Regions from separate parts of the Homo sapiens genome. Here region 2 is linked to region 1. Evidence: promoter capture Hi-C in human tissues and cell types (Jung and others, 2019). All regions are on one chromosome and are shown on one strand. The core of a region is centred on a gene start or on the middle of the fragment in contact, and the rest is flanking DNA. Distances in the headings are between cores, read along the strand shown. Region 1 holds the start of MXRA7 (matrix remodeling associated 7). Region 2 overlaps RHBDF2 (rhomboid 5 homolog 2).

Region 1 (6,529 bases), core at 1,387-3,886:
CACGCTGCTCCCCAGGGCAGTGACTTCCGAGCTAACAGCAGGTGGAGTTGCCCTCCTCCCTCGCTGTTGGTGGGGTTCGCTTAGGGACGGAGGGAGAAGGAGGCTGGCAGAGGGCATAGCCCCACTTCCCAACCCTGATTTGAGTTATCTTCCCCAGGGGGCCTTTCTCCCTATCTGTCCTCCAAGCCCCAGCAGTGTGATCATCAGAAGAAAGCACTGGAAGCTCTTGGAAACGCTGGAGTCCACTTCAGGACAATTTGTTTTCCTTTCTTTTTTTTCTTGTCACTGACTCGAAGCTCATCAAGACAATTTCTAAGCAGCTTCTTAGGTTAATGCCACCACTGGGAGTGGGTGGGATGACACAATATCTGTGTCCCCACAGCACCTGGCTTAATGTTTGCAGGCAGGAGTTTTGGGGGAGCTTTGGCCAGCTCAGGAAGGCCTGGGGACTTGAACCCAAAGGGGAAGGGCACTGACTTCAATTGAATTCTCCTGTGGGGTGGGTTCTCTCTGGAGGGTGCCTTAGCGGGAGGACAGACACAAGCCTCAAGTCATCCTCACTGGCACCTATGTCATGGGGGCTGCCTGGCACGCGAACCCCCATACTGCCTTGTCCTTCAGAGCACCCATTCAGCTTCAGAGGACGTGCATTCACCCAGACAGTGGCAAATTATGCGAGTGGCCCTATTTAAACACCACTGAACCTATTCCTGTAGGTACCATGTGCTGAGAGCCGAAAGCCTTGTAGAAAGTTCTTTAAGCGCTGTGCCCCACAGGATTGAGCTAAGACAGGGCGCCGCTAAAGGACATTTTGCACTTCAGTCCAGAGCCTGGTGTGGGTGATAAAGGGCCAGCCCTGTAAGGCCAGGACTGACTGAGTGTGCATGACGGCTCCAGAACTGTCTAAAGGCCTCTCCTGCTCCCGCGAGACCTCGATGGAGGCAGGAATCCCAAATATGGGAGCAAACACAACAGATCAGCACATGTCCAAACCGCGCCCCCTCCACCATCACCGCGTGAGGTCTGGAAGCCCACCCCAAGCAAGAACGGCAGGGCCTGCCCCTGCTCCACCCCATTAAATGTGGCTGGTTAGAATCCTCTCTAATGACACAATTAGTCACCCACTTGTCAAGCAAAGCGCCTGCTCAGAGGGGGTCTGGCGCACTTACTCAGCAAAGAGAAATGCCTCTGAGCACAGCCTGGCTGCCTCCTCCTCCCCCGAAGGGCTTCTCTCCAGGGTAAACCATTGTGTCCAGCACAGGACAGAGTGGGCACGCAGACACGCAGGCACGCTGACAATGCGCATCCCGGCTCTCCTCCCTTCCAAGAAAAGGAGCTCAGGGGTAAGAACAAGGGATTACAATCCGACTCGGAGACCCTGGCGGTGGCCTGGACCGGCCAAGCGTGGTGAACTCCAGGGAACATGGGCACACAGTGTAGGGGCTGGGATGAGTGGATGAGGGAAATCCGACTCCTCTCAGATATCCACAGGCAGGACAAGGTGGCCAAGGCCGAGCTGATGGACAGCATGGCGGGAGGCCTGGGGCAGAGGCAGGGAGGGCCGCTTTGGGGTGCTCACTGGTGCTCCAGGAGGGCTTTATCCTGCATCTTCACTCCATCCAGGCCCAGCTTACCTACAACCCGGGGGAGTGGGGGTAGGAGGGTGTTAGATGTGTAGCTTGAAAACGACAATAAAAAGGACTGCTGGGATCGGGTGCCTTTTCTTTCAGTCCCAGCCCACGGGCTTCACAAAACGCCACAGCACTGACTCTGAAATCTGGACTTCAAATTGGCTGAAAAAGAAAAGCCAGCTTTCCTCCCTCGCCCCCCGAAAGTCCTACTTTTTAAACATCAAGATAACTCTCATGGCAGGCCTGGAAATAAGCCACAGGCACGTGGATTTGGGAACCGGTGGGCGGGAGGGGTCAGAAGTGGGTGAGGAGCAAAATTCCAAGCCCTGGTCCCGAGGCCTGGGAGCCAGCAGCTGCGGAGCACGCCCTGGGCTGGGAGAGGCCGAGGGGAGGGGAGAGCAAAACACCTCCAAACAAACTCCTTCGGGCTCGCCCCTCGCCACACTTTCTGGGGGAGGGCGGCGAGTTTGCGGGGCTGCGGCTTAGCATGGCGGGACCTGCATTTCCTGCGGGCCGCGGGTTCTGCGCTTCCTGGGGGCAGCCTGGGCTGGAGGCCGCGGCCCCGCTCCCTGGCTCGGCGGGGAACGGCAGCGGCAGCCGGAGCCCCGGGGGTGGGGAGGGGGCCGCGAGGGCCCCGGTGCGTACCTGCCTCGCCTCCACCGCCTGCTCCTCCGCCTCCGCTGGCGCCGCCGCGGGATCCCCTGGCCCTTCGGGCTCCCCCGGTCCCGCAGGCTCCCCGAGCTCCCCCAGCCCCGCGGGCTCTCCAGGCTCCTCCGGCCCCGCGGGCGAGGCCGCCGGCTCGGGGGCGCAGGGGCGGGACGGCGCCGGGGCCCCGGTGGCCTCGGCCGGGGGCGCGGGTTCCGGGGGCGCGCGGGCAGGCTCCGGGCTCGCGGCCGCCCCACGCCGCACCAGTAGCCAGGCGAGCAGAAGGGCCAGCGCGGTGGCCAGCGCAGGCAGCGCGGCCAGTAGCTCGGCCGGCGCCTCCATCGCGCCGCGGCCGCCGAGTGCGGGCCAGCTGGGACCCCGAGGGAGCCCGCCGCGCCCCGTCGCCGCGCCCGGTCGCCGCGCCCCGCCTCGGGGCGGAGCCCCCATCGCCGCGCCCCGCCCCCGCCCCCTCCGGCCCCGGGAGGGTGACGCACAGGCTGCGGGCGGGGGTGTTGAGGGGGCAGAGCCCTGACCACCTGGGAGGCACAGGAGGGCCAACCCCTGCCCGGCCTGGGCAGCCTTGACGCTTTGGGGCACAATTTAGCTCAGGTTCAATTTGAAATACTGTATGAGGTGCCCTTAGGTTGTCATCTTTGGCCTTAGTACGGCGGTTCGTCTTAGAGCATTTTGGAAATGTGGGAATGCAGAGAGACAAGCAAACCCGGGAAGCTTCATGGAAACGGCAGCCTGGATTGGCTTGTAAAGCAATCATAATGCCGGATTACGTTCAGCCACTGCCGTTTTTATAGGCATGTCAGGAGTTGCTTTTAATCCTCAGGGTTGCCTTAATGCACTTTCACAGAGGACATCTCCAGATCCCGGCCAGTGAATGCTCCCTTCGGAGCTGAGGCCAGCAGCCTTCAACACAGGCCTCCCTGTTAACAGTAACATGGCTCCCCCGCCCCTAGACCTGAAATTCAGCTGCAGGTCCTTGGTCAACGCTATTCCTCTTACCAGACTTTCTTCTTTGCACAATTCCAGAATGCATGCAGGGTGGGAGGGTACAATGAAGGAAATGAAGGCTATTGTTTTTGTTTCTCCAGATCCTCCCAGGCCTCTGTTGCTGAACAGTGGATTTTGAGATAAACACGTTGTAACCAAAAACATACTTTCCTACCACTCCCCACCCACTCTTTAGTTATTTTAAATAAACACAGGACGGGCATGTCAGGTATCACGCCAAACATAAGGCCTAATGTTAAAAAAAACACGGTTCCAGTTTTTGCTGAGGATGCCTTTAATACTTTTTTGGGAATATTACAGTGCCTGAGCTGATCTGTGATATAAACCAGATATTAGATGGAGTGCTTCTTTTTAAATGAAGATACACAAACGAGACCCCTCAGCAACAGGGAGAGCTGAATTCTGCTGCACTGCACGATATTAAGCGGGCCATGCACTTCCTTTTAGTGGTGGTTGATGAAAAGAGCCTATAAACTATAAAATGTGAAATAGGCTTTATCTACGGGCGACTAGCTTTTAACCACTGTGGAAGTTTCAGCCAGTGTATGGGCCTATTTTTTTTCTTTTGAGATGGAGTCTTATTCTGTTGCCCAGGCTGGAGTGCAGTGGCGCAATCGCGGCTCACTGCAACCTCCACCTCCCGGGTTCAAGCGAAACTCCCACCTCAGCCTCCTGAGTAGCTGGGATTACAGGCGCCCACCACCATGCCCGGCTAATTTTTTTCTGTTTTTAGTAGACAGGGTTTCACCGTGTTGGCCAGACTGGTCTTGAACTCCTGACCTCAGGCAATCTGCCTGCCTCAGCCTCCCAAAGTGTTGGGATTACAGGCGTGAGCCTCCGCGCCCAGCCAATTTTTTTTTTTTTTTTTTAAAGAGACAGGGTCTTTCTTTCTTTTTTTTTTTTTAAAGAGACAGGGTCTCACTATGTTGCCCAGGCTGGAGTGCAGTGGCTATTCACAGGCATGATCATAGCTTTCTGCAGCCTCGACATCCTGGGCTCAAGTGATCCTCCTGCCTTAGCCTCTTGGGCAGCTGGGATTACAGGTGTGCATCAATGCTCCTGGCCCAGGGCCTTAATTTTGTGCTCCATCCCATTGTTTTAAAGTGTAAATACATTTTTTTAAAGTCCTGTTCTGCTGACAAAGTACATTGTTGACTTTCAAATGAGTAAGAAAGAAAATAAGGACAAAACAATGCCAAAAACACAACTCCAAATCATGTTGCTTTATTTAAAATGATGAACAAGTTTCACCCAAGTGAAAGTTTAAAATACCAACCCAATAGCAGATCCACAGGCTTTCATGGCAGACCCCATGGCTAGACGGACGCAGAACTAGGAGACTGCTCAGTGTTCTGACAACTCCAGGAGGCACGAGTGTGCAGAAGACAGTCCCAGTTCTTCTGTAGCATCCAGTCACTTTGGAGACAGCTGGCCAGGGCTAGCTCTCCTCCCAGGAGGTTCACTGGGGCTTAGATGACATTTCTTTTTTTTTAAAGACAGAGTCTCGGTCTGTCACCCAGGCTGGAGTGGCTTGATCTCAGCTCACTGCAACCTCTGCCTCCTGGGTTCAAGTGATTCTCCTGCCTGAGTTGACCAAGTAGCTGGGACTACAGGCATGTGCCACCACACCTGGCTAATTTTTGTATTTTTAGTAGAGACGGGGTTTCACCGTGTTGGCCAGGCTGGTCTTGAACTCCTGACCTCAAGTGATCCACCTGCCATGGCCTCCCAAAGTGCTGGGATTACAGGGGTGAGCTACGGCGCCTGGCCGAAATTTCTGAACAATGAGACAAAGTTGAGAGCCACCGCCTGGGGGTGCAAGCTCACCTAGTTTTGCTGCATAGGATGTCACATCTTGACACAAGCTAGTGGGAGGGGAGTGTGGAAGAAGCCGCCAGACTCCACTTCAAATCTACCAGCAATACCAGTACACACATCAAAAACAACTTACTCGTGGAAATACTACAGACAATCTAAAGAACCTACAGCTGGGGCATCCTTATACGCCTTCCTCCTACACAGCATTTTTTACATTTACTGCAAAAATTTTGTTCCATCCTATACTCGTCTAAAGTCCTAAATCCAAGGCTCAGTCTCTAGTAAGCTTATAAAGCATTTGCACCAGCAACCTTCCCACAGATCCTTAGTTTTGCTACTTTATGAAGAAGCTGTTACTACCTTAAGTATACATTGGTGTTAATTATGCTCTTTCATGTAGATCCGTTACACCTGCATTTAAGAAGGTCTGCACTTTCTTCTACCTGCCCTCACCAGCGGCCCTGTGAACAGCCGCAACAGCCGCACATTCACTGTCCATTAAGCTTGTGGAGCTTGTCAGGGACCTGGGCTTGTCACCGTTATCTCCAGCACCTCAAGAGCAGTGCCTGGCCCTCAAACACCTATTGAACGCTTGAATTATTAAGACACGGACAGCTGCAAGAATACAGCAAAATGTGAATGTCCCTCTTTTCAGTGGCTCTCCCCTCAAGGATGTCACCCTAAACATCCCAGTACCACTAATGGCAGAGGCATGTGTGTGAAGCATGGATTCTTCCAGCTGATGGTGAAGCCTCATCCCCAAAGACCCAGGGTCCTCCTGATGTTCTAGGTCCCCAACTCTTCTCTCTCCCACTCTGGTCCTTCCATCAGAAGTTAATAATCCAAGATCCCTTCTTCCAGGACCCAGCTCTTTGGTTTTAAGATCTGCTGTCATCTTGGAGAATCATCCCTGAAAATAATCTAACATTATCTCCTTCACTTTACTGTTGTTGGCACCATTCAATGGAGTAGCTCACGCCAGATGGGAAGAGGAGTTAACTTCTGAACAAGTGGTCTCTGGGTACCCACTCTTCCTAGTCTACCTTGGCCACCCGCCACCACTCCACTCCTTTTCCACACACGGTTTCCCCACCTTGCCCCTGTTGTGCTTACATAACGGACAGCCTGGCTAGCCCACAGAGACAGTAACGGGGGTTGGGGAATAGGGCTGCTGAATCCCTGGCCTGGCAGGAATAAACAAAGCATGTCCCAGGAGCACAGAATCTGTACTATCCAGACACTGTACTATCCAGAGCTGACTTGGGCCTATCAGATATGTTATTCCCCTCATTTCTGGAATACTGTTATCAAACAGGAATCAACTTTAGCATCTGGAGAAAGAAAACTGGGTGGCTAATCTTTATTTTCTAGATTATTATTTTTTTGAGAGATGGGATCTCACTATGTTGCCC
Region 2 (2,500 bases), core at 1-2,500, 240 kb before region 1:
CGTTCTACCTGAGGTCTACTTGTGTCTCCCCCCTTGTTCTCTGCCCCCAGACCATGGCCAAAGCCTTTCCCACAATGTCCCATCTGAGAGCCTTATGGATGGGCTCACAGGGCAGAGGTAGGAGGAGAAAGAGGAAGGGGCATGGTGGGCACCCAGCCCTGGGGGCAACTGAGGGCACAGCCACGTCCCCAGCAAGGGCACGCTCCAGTAGTAGTGGGGGAGAAGGCACCAGCAGAGGCAGCGCTGAGGACCTGGGAAGAAAAGGACCCTGCCCCAGGAGATGGTCTCAGCAAGGAGCGGGATATTAGGAACTGAGACCCAAGACTCAGAGAGGCAGGTGCCTTGGGTGTGCCTGAGCTTGGGTCAGGATCTCACAGGCCTCACGCCCCAGAAAAACCCCGCCTTAACCAACCATCTCACGCGGAGTCAGCCTCGCCTGGCAGGGGGGCACCCAGGTCCAGAGCCCGGGCCCTGTCTTGGGTCTCTGGCTCTCTGGCACACAGAGAGCGCTCTGCAGAGGGCAGCCCTCGCAGGCAGACCCTGTTCCAGCAGGGCTGAGGGGCAGCCGTGTGGCCCAGCGGTCAGTGCAGCACCTGGTCCAGCTCATACTTCTCGCAGAAGCGGCTGGTGAAGGGGAAGCAGGTGAGGTGCTCGATCCAGGGCCAGTTAATGGGGTAGATGTACAGCCACAGCACGAGGGCGGCGAAGAGGCCGGCAAAGGCCAGCAGTGACACCAGGATGAGTGCCCGCTTGCGGTACTTGTCGCTGGTGCCGAAGGTGATGTAGGGCAGGAAGGCGAAGGCCAGCAGCAGGCCACTGAGGAAGCCGAAGATGTGGGCGATGTTGTCGATCCAGGGCAGGAGGCCACAGATGAACAGGAAGAGCACGATGGCCGAGAGGTTGAGGAAGGCCTTCCAGGGCCTCTCCAGCAGCGGCCAGCTCTGGAAGAGCTCCACGAAGAGGCAGGCGAGGAGGCCGAACTGTGAGCCGGCCGGGCCCACCTGGGGCGGGGCAGGGGAGACGTGGCTTCAGGCATCAGGTGGGTGGCCTGGGCCGGGCCTGCACCCTGGGTCATCCCATCGATCAGCTCCTCCCTGGCAGGCATGGGGACCCCTGAGGCTGAGGGGCAGGGGGTCGGCTGGAGCTGCTGGACCAAAGCTGGGCCTGCTCCGCCCATTCTTTCAGCAAACACTGAGCGCCTACTGTGTACGTGCCTGGTGTGGGTCCGTAGCAATAAGCAAGACAGACAAGCCTGTTCCAGGCCGCACACGGTGGGGAGAGGACGGACACTGAACAAACTAGATCAGTCAGGTGGAACTGATCAGACTGCCGACGGCGCACGGAGGCCATTTCCTACCGCTCGACCTGCAGATACCTAGCATACTGTCAGGCAGTGGGCACGGTTAGGAAGATAAATGAGGCGGTGGAGGGACAGGGTGACTCAAGAGCATCACTGTTCCCTCTCACTGGGATTAAGAGACCAGCCAGTAAGCCCCCAGATTAGCTGTCCCTCCGCTGTGGAGCCCAGTACAGGAGGGGCACCGTGTCCCTCTGGCAGATCCCAGGTGGGTGGAATAGGAGCAGCAGGGCTGGCCCCCTATGTGCGGAAGGGGTCCCATCCTCCACATCCTTACCTCTGCCCGGTATGGGAGAAAGATGGCACTGGCGAGGTTGCCTGTGATGCCACTGAGGATGAAGATGATGGCGATACGGTGCCAGCCGGCCAGCTTCTCCAGGTCCCTCAGGATGGTCATTTGAAAGACCACAGACACGAGGCAGTGCACCACGCTGGGGGAGGGACACACCAGGCAGCGGCCTTCAGCCAGGCACTTCAGGAGCAGTAGGCTTCGGCAGGTTGGGCCGGCCATGCCCTGGCCCAGGAACCTTTCCCCAGGGGTCCGGCTGGGTGGCCATCACAGGGGTCGGGTTCGGGGGCAGTGAGGAGCCTCTTACCCAGCATGTAGGAAGAGAGACAGCCAGAGCCTGTAGAACTGATCTGGGACCTCAGGGTTGAGGAAGGGCAGCAGCCCACACACCTTGTCCAAGCAGTGCACCTGGGAGTGGGCATATGGTGCTCAGCGCCCCAGAAGCAGGCTGAGTCTGAGGCTCCGACATGGGAGGGAGTGCGTGAGCCCCGGCCCCAGCAGGCTGCCATGCCCAGCGTCCTCTCCTCCACTACTCCAGGCCTGCCTCGCCTCACCTGGGAGCAGAGTGTTGCTTCCTCATGGAAATAGCCGTGCATGAACTCACAGTATTCCCGGGTGGTGATCTCACAGCTAAGGGGGTGGTGAGGCAAGAGGGGACATCAGGGCGCCGAATAACCACTGCCCACCTTTGCCCAGAGCCCAGCACCTGGCTACAGGAGGCATCGCTGGCAGGAAGGGGGATGCCGCATCCAGAACCTTCGACTCTGGAGCAAGCTTCCTTCCTCCAGCTCGCACCATGGGTAGCCCCAGAGCAGGGGAGCAAAGGACAGTTATTGGAGGGCATCGGCCCAGCG

Evidence for each region. Contacts are between HindIII fragments. The study calls those that stand out against the background at their distance.
Region 2: a contact is called between a fragment that was not itself captured here and the fragment with the promoter of MXRA7 in region 1, in 1 of the 25 tissues and cell types used here (mesendoderm cells).

The regions. Positions count from the first base shown.
Region 1 is chr17:76,708,329-76,714,857 of GRCh38, forward strand. It overlaps MXRA7 (matrix remodeling associated 7), which reads right to left and starts at 2,637. Exons shown (of 4, transcript NM_198530.4): 1 at 2,277-2,637. The coding sequence starts at 2,618. It also overlaps a transcript of JMJD6 not described here. RefSeq lists a silencer at 2,659-2,868. The HindIII fragment of the contact is 3,325 bases long and covers 880-4,204 here.
Region 2 is chr17:76,471,052-76,473,551 of GRCh38, forward strand. It overlaps RHBDF2 (rhomboid 5 homolog 2), which reads right to left. Exons shown (of 19, transcript NM_001005498.4): 16 at 2,201-2,276; 17 at 1,954-2,054; 18 at 1,635-1,788; 19 at 1-1,001. The coding sequence ends at 582. Among named protein-coding and RNA genes, the nearest start is that of AANAT, 4.7 kb to the left of the region's middle. RefSeq lists an enhancer at 2,247-2,500. The HindIII fragment of the contact is 4,257 bases long and covers 1-2,500 here.